Regions from separate parts of the Homo sapiens genome. Here regions 2 and 3 are each linked to region 1. The links are contacts of gene promoters, found by promoter capture Hi-C in blood cells and fetal thymus (Javierre and others, 2016). All regions are on one chromosome and are shown on one strand. The core of a region is centred on a gene start or on the middle of the fragment in contact, and the rest is flanking DNA. Distances in the headings are between cores, read along the strand shown. Region 1 holds the start of AQP3 (aquaporin 3 (Gill blood group)). Region 2 overlaps NFX1 (nuclear transcription factor, X-box binding 1). Region 3 overlaps CHMP5 (charged multivesicular body protein 5).

Region 1 (3,586 bases), core at 1,075-3,574:
GCTTCTTCTGCTACCTCTCCTGACACAACCTGTCCACTTGAAGGGTCCATGCCTATCTGTCCTGAAATGTCAATGGTCCTGTCACCTAACATAGTTTGACTGTAGGTCCCAGTGGCCCCTGGGGCTTTCTTGGTGCTGATCACATTTCTGATCAAGGACGACAGGACTAACCCTTCTCTCTTTTGGTCCCTCTGGGAGAAGAACCTCTGCACTAGCCCTGCTCGCTTCTCAATGAACCGTGGGAGCCCTTTTTTTTTTTTTTTTTTTTGAGATGGAGTTTGGCTCTTGTTGCCCAGGCTGGAGTGCAATGGCATGATCTCAGGTCACTGCAACTTCCGCCTCCTGGGTTCAAGTGATTCTCCTGCCTCAGCCTCCCGAACAGCTGAGATTACAGGCACCCGCCATCACGCCCGGCTAATTTTTGGTATTTTTAGTAGAGACAGGGTTTCACCATGTTGGTCAGTGTGGTCTTGAACTCCTGACCTCAGGTGATCTGCCCGCCTCGGCCTCCCAAAGTGCTGGGATTATAGGCGTGAGCCACCACGCCCAGCCGGGGGCCCTTATTTCTCATATTCGTCCCTCAAGGGACAAGTCCTCAGGGTCATTAGCCCACCTGGATTAAGTCCCTCTGGAAAATGATTTCTTTGATCTCCTCTGGCAATGCTGCCATAGAAGCTCAGCCTAAGGGCATGTTGTTTGCTCCCAGGCCACCAGATGTTTCCTTGTTATTAAAAGCAGCATAGAGGGCAAGGTTGCACTTCGGGAGGCCGAGGTGGGAGGATCGTTTAAAGCCAGGAGTTTGAGACTAACCTGGGCAACATAGCAAGACCTCATTTTTACAACAGATTTTTAAAAATTAGCTGAGTGTCATGGTGGCACATAGTCCCTATAGTCCCATCCATTCTGGAGGCTGAGGTGGGAGGATCACTTGGGCCCAGGAGTTCGAGGCTACAGTGAGCTGTGATTGCACCACAGCCTGGGTGATGGAGCAAGACCCTACTCTTTAAAAAGAGAGAGAGGGCAAGGTTGTCCCATGATCCCCCTCAGATAGGGCTGACTCCCCCATAATTAAGTTTGCTTAAAGAGGCAGACTTGCTGGGCTCAGTGGCTCACGCCTGTAATCCCAGCACTTTGGGAGGCTGAGGCGGGTGGATAACTTGTGGTCAGGAGTTCGAAATCAGCCTGGTCAACATGGTGAATCCCCATCTCCACTAAAAAAACAAAAATTAGCTGGGCATGGTGGTGTGCACCTGTAATCCCAGCTAATCGGGAGGCTGAAGCAGGAGAATCACTTGAACCTGGGAGGTGGAGGTTGCAGGGAGCCGAGATCACGCCATTGCACTCCACCTAGGCGACAGAGAGAGACTCCGTCTAAAAAAAAAAAAGAGACAGACTCTTCCTTGGCTGGGGGTAAGTCAGATGGGAGAGGAGAGGGTTAAAAACAGCTGGGACTCAGCCTGCTGGCAAACATGTGGCATGTGGCATGTCGGGGCAACTGCAGCTCAGCCTCTGGAGCCATGTGAGCAATGCACGCAGGTACACGTGTGACAAGCTAGGTCACCTAGCCATGTTCAACAGGCATGTGCACAGCCACGAGGAATGCCCAGCCGTACAATTAGGCACACAGGACATCCGCCATGTGTAGACACAGCTGTGGACATAGCTGGCCAGGACATGCGACACACGACGTGCTCATAGCACAGGGAGAAGGGCCCATGAAGTCTGGTTGGAACTCAGCACGTGTGTCTGTGTGCCCACCTGAGTCTGGACTGCTGCCCCTCTGACACTAGCTGTCCCCTTGAAGGGTCGGTGCCTTATCTGTCCTGACAGAAGAGACAGTGTTGCTTCTCACTTGGGGCTCGCAGCCTCCTCCTCCTGCCTCGAACTGAGGATCTGTTGGGTCCAGTCATCCTGGAGAGATGCGGCCAGTTTCTTTCTGACAGGTCTCCTCCTGCCCGCAAGGAAGTGGGGTGATCACAGGGCGCAGGTGGTCTCTATGACAGCTGCATCCTCTCCAGCCATGGCCCTGAACCCTGCCTATAATCCCACCATTGGCTCTCAGATCTGCCTAAGCCTCTCAGCCCCCTTGACGTCCCCTCCCTTAAGCGCCCTCCGAAGGCCACCCGTCCCTCAAAGCTCCTCACACTCCATGCCCGCAGCTCCCTCCACCCGGCGTCCGCACCAGCCTCCCAGCCGAGGTGGGGCGGGGGCGAGGGGGCGCGCACTCCTCGGCGCTCCGGGACTGCAGGGCGGGGCTGCAGGGCGGGCGGGGCCCGTGTCTCCAGCGCTCCTATAAAGGGAGCCACCAGCGCTGGAGGCCGCTGCTCGCTGCGCCACCGCCTCCCGCCACCCCTGCCCGCCCGACAGCGCCGCCGCCTGCCCCGCCATGGGTCGACAGAAGGAGCTGGTGTCCCGCTGCGGGGAGATGCTCCACATCCGCTACCGGCTGCTCCGACAGGCGCTGGCCGAGTGCCTGGGGACCCTCATCCTGGTGGTGAGTGGAGGGAGCCGGGGAAGCCCTTCTCTCTCCAGCCCTTGCACTCCCCAAACTCTCACTTCCCCGAAGGGGCTGTGTTTTCCAAGGTAGCCTGGACCCACCTCCCCAGCTGTGACCCCCACGCTTAACCGCGGAGGATCAAGCTGACTTCCAAAGTCCTCTTCCCCACGGTTCTAACCCCCTCTCTGACAGCTCCGACTCTTGCCAGAATGACAGCTGTTACTCCCCAGTGATAGTGCCGATCGTTTACCCTCCCACAAGTGACTCAGCCAACAGGCTGGGGGCAGCGGTCACGCTTGCAGTCTGGGACAGCCAGCCACTTCCCCTGCCTCCCACACCCCTCCAGATTCCCAGAATCCCAGCCCCCAGATGTAGGGGAGGGGGCGGAGGCAAATGAGCCATTATTAGGTTATTTGGGTCCTGGGTGTCTGGCCTCTAATGAATAATTAAGCCTCAAAAAGTCCAAAGGTTGAAGTGAGTGAGGACAGTTTGCACGAGTGGGGGCAGAGGGTGCAGGCCACATGGGCTGCGAACAGCGAAGTGGGAAGGGAGGCAGATTCTGACGGTAGAAGGGTGGGAGGAAGCTAGGCCCAGGCACAGAGGACGCGTGTCTAAAGTTGCTCACCTGGTGCTCAGCGACTCCCAGGCCCTGTCTGTTATCCAGACAGATGCTGTCAGCGTCTGTGCAGAAGACGACAAGCATTCTGGTTACTCCCTGGCCTCTTGGTTACTCTGTGGGTTCTCTGAGTGAGCATTTCCCTGCCTGAGTTACTCCTCAGTCCTAGTTACTCCTTGGTCACACCAGTTTCACCCTGGTTTTGTTCTGAGTGACTCTGTTTGCACTTCTTAGGTCTGGCAGACCCACCAGTTATGTTCTATTTCCTGTCCCAGTTACTCTGATTTTTCAGCCGCTCATGTGGTTACACCTGTTTTCCTCTGTGTTCAGTTGCTACATTGCAGTGAGTGGGTTACTCCGTTCCTGCCCCAGCCCTGGGTAGTACAGACCAGCTGGCCCACTGTGGACTAGGAAGCCTAACTAAGGGCAAGTAGGGATCCCCAAATGGTTGAGGATCAGGATCTATGGGCAGA
Region 2 (3,506 bases), core at 839-3,338, 150 kb after region 1:
AAGCAGAGGTGGGTGGATCACAAGGTCAGGAGATTGAGACCACCCTGGCTAACATGATGAAACATCATCTCTACTAAAAATGCAAAAATTAGCTGGGCGTGGTGGTGCGCGCCTGTAATCCCAGCTACTCAGGAGGCTGAGGCAGAAGAATCACTTGAACCTGGGAGGTGGAGGCTGCAGTGAGCCGAGATCGTGCCACTGCACTCCAGCCTGGGCAACAGAGTGAGACTCCCTCTCAAAAAAAAAACAAAAACAAACAAAAAAAAACCACTAGCTAGGCATGGTGGCTCATGTGTCTAATCCCAGCATTTTAGGAGGCTGATGCAGAATTGCTTGAGCCTGGGAGTTCAAGACAAGACTGGGCAACACAGCAGACCGTCTCAAAAAAAAAAAAAATTAGCTGGATGTGGTGGCATGTGCCTGTAGTCTCAGCTGCTTGGGAGTCTGAGGCAGGAGGATCATTTGAGTCCAGGAATTCAAGGCTGCAGTGAGACATGATCACACCACTGGACTCCAGCCTGGGTAACAGAGTAAGACTCTGTCTCAAAAAAAAAAAAAAAAAAAAAATACAGTTAGATAGAAGGAATAAGATCTAGTGTTTAGTAGCACTATGGCTAACAACAATTTATTATATATTTCAAAATAACTAGAAGAGTAGAAATGGGATGCTCCTAACACAAAGAAATGATAAATATTTGAGGTGTTGGAATCCCCATATGCCAATTACCCTGATTTGATCATTACACATTGTACGCTTGTATCAAAATATCATGTGTACCCCATAAACATGTAAACTATTACGTATGCATAGTAAAAATTTAAAAATGAAAAAAAAATGTTTTTTTGTTTGTTTGAGACAGGGTCTTGCTCTGTCACCCAGGCTGGAGGGCAGTGGTGCAATCTCAGATCACTGCAATCTCCACCTCCTGGATTCAAGCAATTCTTGTGCCTCAGCCTCCCGAGTAGCTGGGATTACAGGTGCCCGCCACCACGCCTGGCTAATTTTTATATCTTTAGTAGAGATGGAGTTTTGCCATGTTGGCCAGGCTAATCTTGAACTTCTGACTTCAGATGATCCGCCTGCCTTGGCCTCCCAAAGCGCTGGGATTACAGGCGTGAGCCATCATGCCTGGCCAAAAATGAGAAGAAGATAAATTAAAAATAGAATTACCATATGATCCTGCAATCACACTTCTGTTTATGTATCCACAGGAAATAAAATCAGTAGGTCAAAGAAAAAATAATAAGTAAAAGCCATCATTTTCAATAAGAGTGACTGATTTTGTCGTATCTTAAAATATATTTTAATATTGTTGTTTAGCTGGTTTATTTAAGATCTATAACTTAATTCTGGTCATATGAAACACATGATCAAGGTAACATACTCTCCCTGCAGAAAAAGTAGTTAAGAGAAATTAAACTGTATTTTTAAAGCTGGGCTTAATAATACTTAAACGTATCAAATAGGGGAGAATAACTACTCAGAAGAGAGAATTAATTGACCTGCTTGAGATGCTGGAGACCTTGCCCATTTCTTTATGCAGTTCAAATGAAACACATGGTAACAGCTCTGACAACTCCACACTGGGGCCGTGACACGAACCAATTCACAGCACACCATGCACTCGTATTTTTCTGTTGTTAGTTGTTCAATTAGAGAACCTGTTTAAAAAACAAAATAACAAAAAAGATTAACTCAAACACAAAAAACCATTCCTCACTTTAATCAACCAAGGATCAGCAAGTCACTCAAGAGAAGAATCCAAACACAGAGATTTTAAGGGATATCTGATTCTGGGTAAGGCAGCTGGCTATTCAGACTGAGGCCAAAAAGGGGCAGGAATTTGCTGAGGAAGAGGATTTAGGAAGGAGACACTCAGGTGGGGATTCCCACAATTAAGGAAACATTCCCAGGAAAACAGCAGAGTAGCCAAATGCCCCTTGTAACATAGCCTGAGGATCCACTGGGCAATACAGGATCTTGCTTTGCATTTTCTATTTTCCAGGATCCTCTAAATCTATCAGATCCATGGATTTAGGTTAGAAAGAGGCTCGTGAAGCTGTAGTGTCAGCTATAAGAAGCCCAAGTCTGGGCAGGTTCCAACAACCCATGAGTGGTGAGATGGCTCTAGCCGTTGCCCTCAAAGTCTTTAGTCATTCACTTAACAAAGATATTCTTGGTGCCTACCATAAGCCCCATGGTGGTGTTACAGTCCCTGGCTCCAGGAGCTCAAAGTCCAGTGACACAGACCAGTGTGTAGTATCAGAATAATCCTCCCAGATCTATTCCTGAATACCTTCACCCACTTCCAGATTTTTTTCCTCAAACACAATTGCAGCAAAGTCTTTCTAGATTTCAATACAGCCAGATACTCTCAAAACTGAGTGTGAGTGTGTGTATATGCTTTTTTGAGTACATACTTTTAGCACTGCATTTATTTCATAATATTATTGTTATTTGCTTTCAGGTCTAAATAAGTTAAAAGAATAAAATTAACCTTAAATACAACATTGCAAGCACATTACATATTATTATTTAGTCCTCTCAAAAAGGCTGTAACAGGTTGGACACGGTGGCTTACACCTGTAATACCAGCACTTTGGGAGGCCAAGGCGGGCAGATCATGAGGTCGGGAGATCAAGACCATCCTGGCCAACATGGTGAAACCCCATCTCTACTAAGAATACAAAAATTAGCTGGGCGTGGTGGAGTGTGGCTGTAATCCCAGTAGTAATCCAAGGAGGATGAGGCAGGAGAATCTCTTGAACCCGGGGGCGGAGGTTGCAGTGAGCCGAGATTGCACCACTGCACTCCAGAGTGAGACTCCGTCTCAAAAAAAAAAAAAAAAAAAAAAAAAATGCTATAACATAGGTACCATTTTACAGATGAAGAAACTGGCTTCATGTAGTTAGATCATTTATCCAAGGTCACACAACTAGAAATTTAAAAGTCAAAATTCAAACTTGTCAAACTATCTGACTCAAAAGCGCACACTGTAATATTCCATAATATTGGCTCTCCTAAGATTTACTTTCTGATTGTTCAGTTTAATGTCAAAAGAAATAGAGAACACCCTGAGACTGAAAGCTCAGGAGAAGGGAGAGTTTTGTCTACCTTGCTGAGTGTAGTATTTCCAGTGTCTGGCATATACTAGGTGCTCCATTAAATATTTGTTAAATTCATGGATAAAGGAATAAATGAGTGATATTTAGTCTGTTCCACAACCTCTTTCTGTGAAAGTTACAGGCGTCACCAAAGTTTAGGCTCGAGTGCAGTGGCATGATCGTGGCTCACTGCATCTTCAAACTCCTGGGCCCAAGCGATCCTCCCACCTCAGCATCCTGAGTAGCTGGGACCACAAGCGTGTGCCACTATACCTGGCTGATTTTTTTGTTAGTTTTTGTAGAGATGGGGTCTACCTCTGTTGCCCAGGATGGTCTTGAACTCCTGGGCTCAGGTGATCCTCTTGACTCGGTTTCCCAAAGTACTGGGATTACAGAAATTT
Region 3 (3,598 bases), core at 354-2,853, 170 kb after region 1:
AAAATTGAAAAGTGTGACATGACACAAGCTGCAGAGCAATTATTCTGTCTCTTACTGGCAAGTGACAGGAACCCAATGCCAACTACTTTAAGCAGAAAAGGGGGTTAAGTTTATTTGCAGAATCCTCAAATACCTCACAGAACGAAGAGTTGTAGAGACTTGGAATGTCAAGGATCAGAATTCAGAGCTGAGTGCCATGGACATCTTTCAGTCTGTCTCTCATCTTGGCTCCCCTCTGGCTTCAATCTCTCATACTGACAAAGAGTAGCACTTCCCCTACTTTCTATTTAGAAAATGTGAGTTATGGACTCTGATAGACACAGCGTGACCACATACACACTTCCATAGCTTGGAAGGGTAAGGACAGTACTACTCTAAAATTGGCATGTTCCTAATAATCGCACAGTTGAAATGGGGGAGCAGTTCCCTTGAAAGAAAGGAAATGCTTTCTGAAAAGACTAGGCAATAAACCATTACAGATAGGCAGAGGCCAGGTCATTGGCAGCTTTTTATGCCCCGGTGGAAGTATTAGAGGACATTAAAGAATTCAAGTCAGATTTATATTTTAGAAAGGTAAGAGTAGCTATATGTGATCAGTGTACTCAAGGAAGTGAAACTATGCGAGAAGAGAAGACATTCCAAAAGACTATGTGAGAGACATCTAGGCCAGCGAGAGTTGAGAGAAGGAGAGGAGGAGTTAGATTTGAGAAACAGGGATTAGGGTTTAAGGATAATTGACTGTGTAGGCAAAATGTAGGCATCAAGGACAACTCAAGCGCTTTCTGTTTTAAATGATAGGAGAATAATAATTCCATTAGCCTCACAGCCTCCCATCATGAGACAATGGTTTCCCTGTCTCACATCTCCCATCATGAGACAGGGAAAACAGAAGCAGGAGATTCAGGTCTGAGGAAAGGTGATAGGCTGTTTCAGCTATTTGAATGTGAGGTGCTTGTGGGCTTCTGGAACATCCAAATATTTGTTAGGCAAACAGCTGGATATAAATAAGATTCTGAAACTCAGGGGCAAGTTCAGGGATAGAAGTATAGATTTGGAAGTTAGCAGTTAAAGCCATGAGAATAGCTGAGATCACTAAATGTAAGTAAACAGAGAAAGAAGTCTGGGGGGTAAAAGCTAGAATCCAGAGGAGCAGTAACATTACAGTTAGAGAGTTGAGGATTTCAGAAAGAAGCCTTAGAGGGAATAGTTAGAGGAACAGGAGAACCGGAGAGTACTATCACAAAACCCAAGAGAGTAGAGATTTAGGTAGAATGATTGCTCACTCATATCCAATGCACTAATGTGGTCTAGCTAAAGGGCTAAATATCACCCACTAAAATGGGCAATATATGAATCACTGGTAACACTAAGCAAGACGAGAAATCAACGAGAAATGTTTGCTGACAGTGAACCCCAAGATAATGAGCTTAATTTGGATATGTTAGATTCTAGGTAACGATGGGGCATTTAAGTGGAAATGCCCAGAATTGAAAATAAGGATAAGAAGTCTAGGCTAGTGACAGTCATTTTGAGTCATTAGTGTGTAGGTAATAGTTGATATCATGGGTGTGAGATTTCTCAAGTAGAATACAGATTGGAACTCTAATGGAAGAAATATTCAAGGGGCTAAGAAAGAGGTATCCATATAAGAGAGTAAGTGGGCCAGATTAGAAGAAAACACAGAACTCACAGAAAAGCCAAGAAAGGTTTCAAGAAGGTAATGATGAATACTATAATGTTTGCTCCCTCTGGAAGGCTTCTTGAGAAGGTGAGGTTGGAGATAGGAGAGGGTTACATACGTTATCTCATCTCCACTTGTAACTAGACAAGAACTCCTGAAGAGAGGAACTTGGTAACCCCTGGGCTGGTACAGAGACTTCTACAAAGCTGGTGTTCCTAAATGTTTATTGGTTTGATCTGCAGACACATGAGAGTCAGGTGCACATAGCACTGTGAGGCACCCAGCTAGGCTGGAGGGGCCATGCTGTTGGCAACAAGTTGAATGAGGAAGGGAGGACAGGATCATTAAAGACCCTGAAATTGGGCAGGAGTTTGAACTTGCTGTAGTACTCCAGGCACCTTCCAAGAAAAGAATGAAGCAGTTTCTTTTTTATTGTTAACAATCCCTCATATAAGAATAGCCCCTTGCAGTTAACAAGGTACTTATGACCATTACCTCAATTATTCCTCACAAAAGCTCTGTGAGTTAAGCATGATTTTACTAATAAGGAAACAGAAGGTTAGAGAGGTTGAATAGACTACTCAGTAGTTAGTAAATGGTAGACCCAGGGCCCAAGCCCAGATTGTTCCTTGCTCTTTCCTCACAATGCTACTGGTTAATTTGGTTTCTGTAGTGGAGTTATAGGCTGAAATGACATTAAAATTCTATTAAATTTGGTTTCCGCAGTAGAGGTTTTAAGCTGAAGTGATATTATTAAAATTATATCCTTTTGAAAAATATTTATTGAGTATAAATAAATGTCCTATACATTAAATATCAAGAAATATTCATAATTGATTACAAGTCAAGATGTAATACTGAGGGAACCATAGAATCAAAATACCCACTCATGATACAGTAGTGATAATTCCATTCCAATAATGGACACAGTAACGACTTGTTCACAAGACACAACAAAACCCATCAAAAAGGCCATCACTTTAACCAACCTATAATACCACAATAGAAAATGATTCTGAATCATAATATGAACAGCCCCAATAATCTCATCTTTGTCTTATCAATTTATCAGGTCATTTTGAGACTGTAGAGTTACACTGTCATAGACTTTTAAGATTCCATTTCCTTAGTTTTATTTCAAATTATTATTAATGAATGAAAACAAGTCATACGAGCTAAAAATACTTTTAAACTGAGTTCGTTTTTCATAAGAAAAAAAGGAATCAAATTTTAGTACGAAGAAAGCATTTCCCAAGCAATGAGTCTCTTAATGGAAAAAATAAAAGAGCAATGTAATTAAACTTTCCTTCAAAGAAAGGAAAGAAACCTAAATCTGTTATGGCAAATTTGGAAAGATAAATATTTCCTAGTCCCATAATATGTGTTTGTTTTACAAGATATGCTTGAATGATGCAAATCTATGAAGCAGGGATCTGTGGCAATCCAAATTCATCCACCAGAACTCCATCCTGTAAAAAGGAAGCAATGTTTAGTGCCACTATTTTTCTATTTGATAAAAAAAAAAAGGATTACAAACATTTAATAGTTAAAACTCATTTCCAAGTATTTAATCAATCAAAACCAAAATCGCAGTCATAAGATGAGAACAAGCTTTTTCATGAAAGGTAAAGGAGGAAGTGATGAATCAAGAAGAGAACTAGAAAGGGCCAAAAGGGGGCTCCTCCACAGGGGAAAGAGAGTGAAAGAGGGAGAAAGAGAAATCTAAGAGTAAACCTGGAAAGGGGAAAAGGAGGCTGGGAGAGTCAAAAAGGAAAGGTTGAGGAGTGGGTCCTTGCCTCCAGATTTGCATTTTCACTCTGGACCAATACCTTTCTTAGCCTCCCAAATCCTTGAAGGAGCAGTGCCCGTGGATAGGCAGTCACTTCCATATCATGCTTTACTATAATCATAGGCAGC

The links. Contacts are between HindIII fragments. The CHiCAGO score rates a contact against its expected background, and 5 or more counts as called.
Region 2: a fragment that was not itself captured here is called in contact with the fragment with the promoter of AQP3 in region 1 in 3 of 17 cell types (endothelial precursors, fetal thymus and naive CD4 T cells); the score reaches 6.4 in endothelial precursors.
Region 3: a contact is called between a fragment that was not itself captured here and the fragment with the promoter of AQP3 in region 1, in 1 of 17 cell types (endothelial precursors). The highest score is 6.9, in endothelial precursors.

Annotation. Positions count from the first base shown.
Region 1 is chr9:33,446,331-33,449,916 of GRCh38, reverse strand. AQP3 (aquaporin 3 (Gill blood group)) reads left to right here and starts at 2,324. Exons shown (of 6, transcript NM_004925.5): 1 at 2,324-2,494. The coding sequence starts at 2,387. RefSeq lists a silencer at 2,149-2,338. The HindIII fragment of the contact is 14,846 bases long and covers 1-3,586 here.
Region 2 is chr9:33,299,419-33,302,924 of GRCh38, reverse strand. It overlaps NFX1 (nuclear transcription factor, X-box binding 1), which reads right to left. Exons shown (of 24, transcript NM_002504.6): 3 at 1,504-1,662. Among named protein-coding and RNA genes, the nearest start is that of NFX1, 11 kb to the right of the region's middle. The HindIII fragment of the contact is 7,607 bases long and covers 1-3,506 here.
Region 3 is chr9:33,280,361-33,283,958 of GRCh38, reverse strand. It overlaps CHMP5 (charged multivesicular body protein 5), which reads right to left. Exons shown (of 8, transcript NM_016410.6): 8 at 1,889-3,150. The coding sequence ends at 3,100. Among named protein-coding and RNA genes, the nearest start is that of NFX1, 8.4 kb to the left of the region's middle. The HindIII fragment of the contact is 3,383 bases long and covers 1-3,294 here.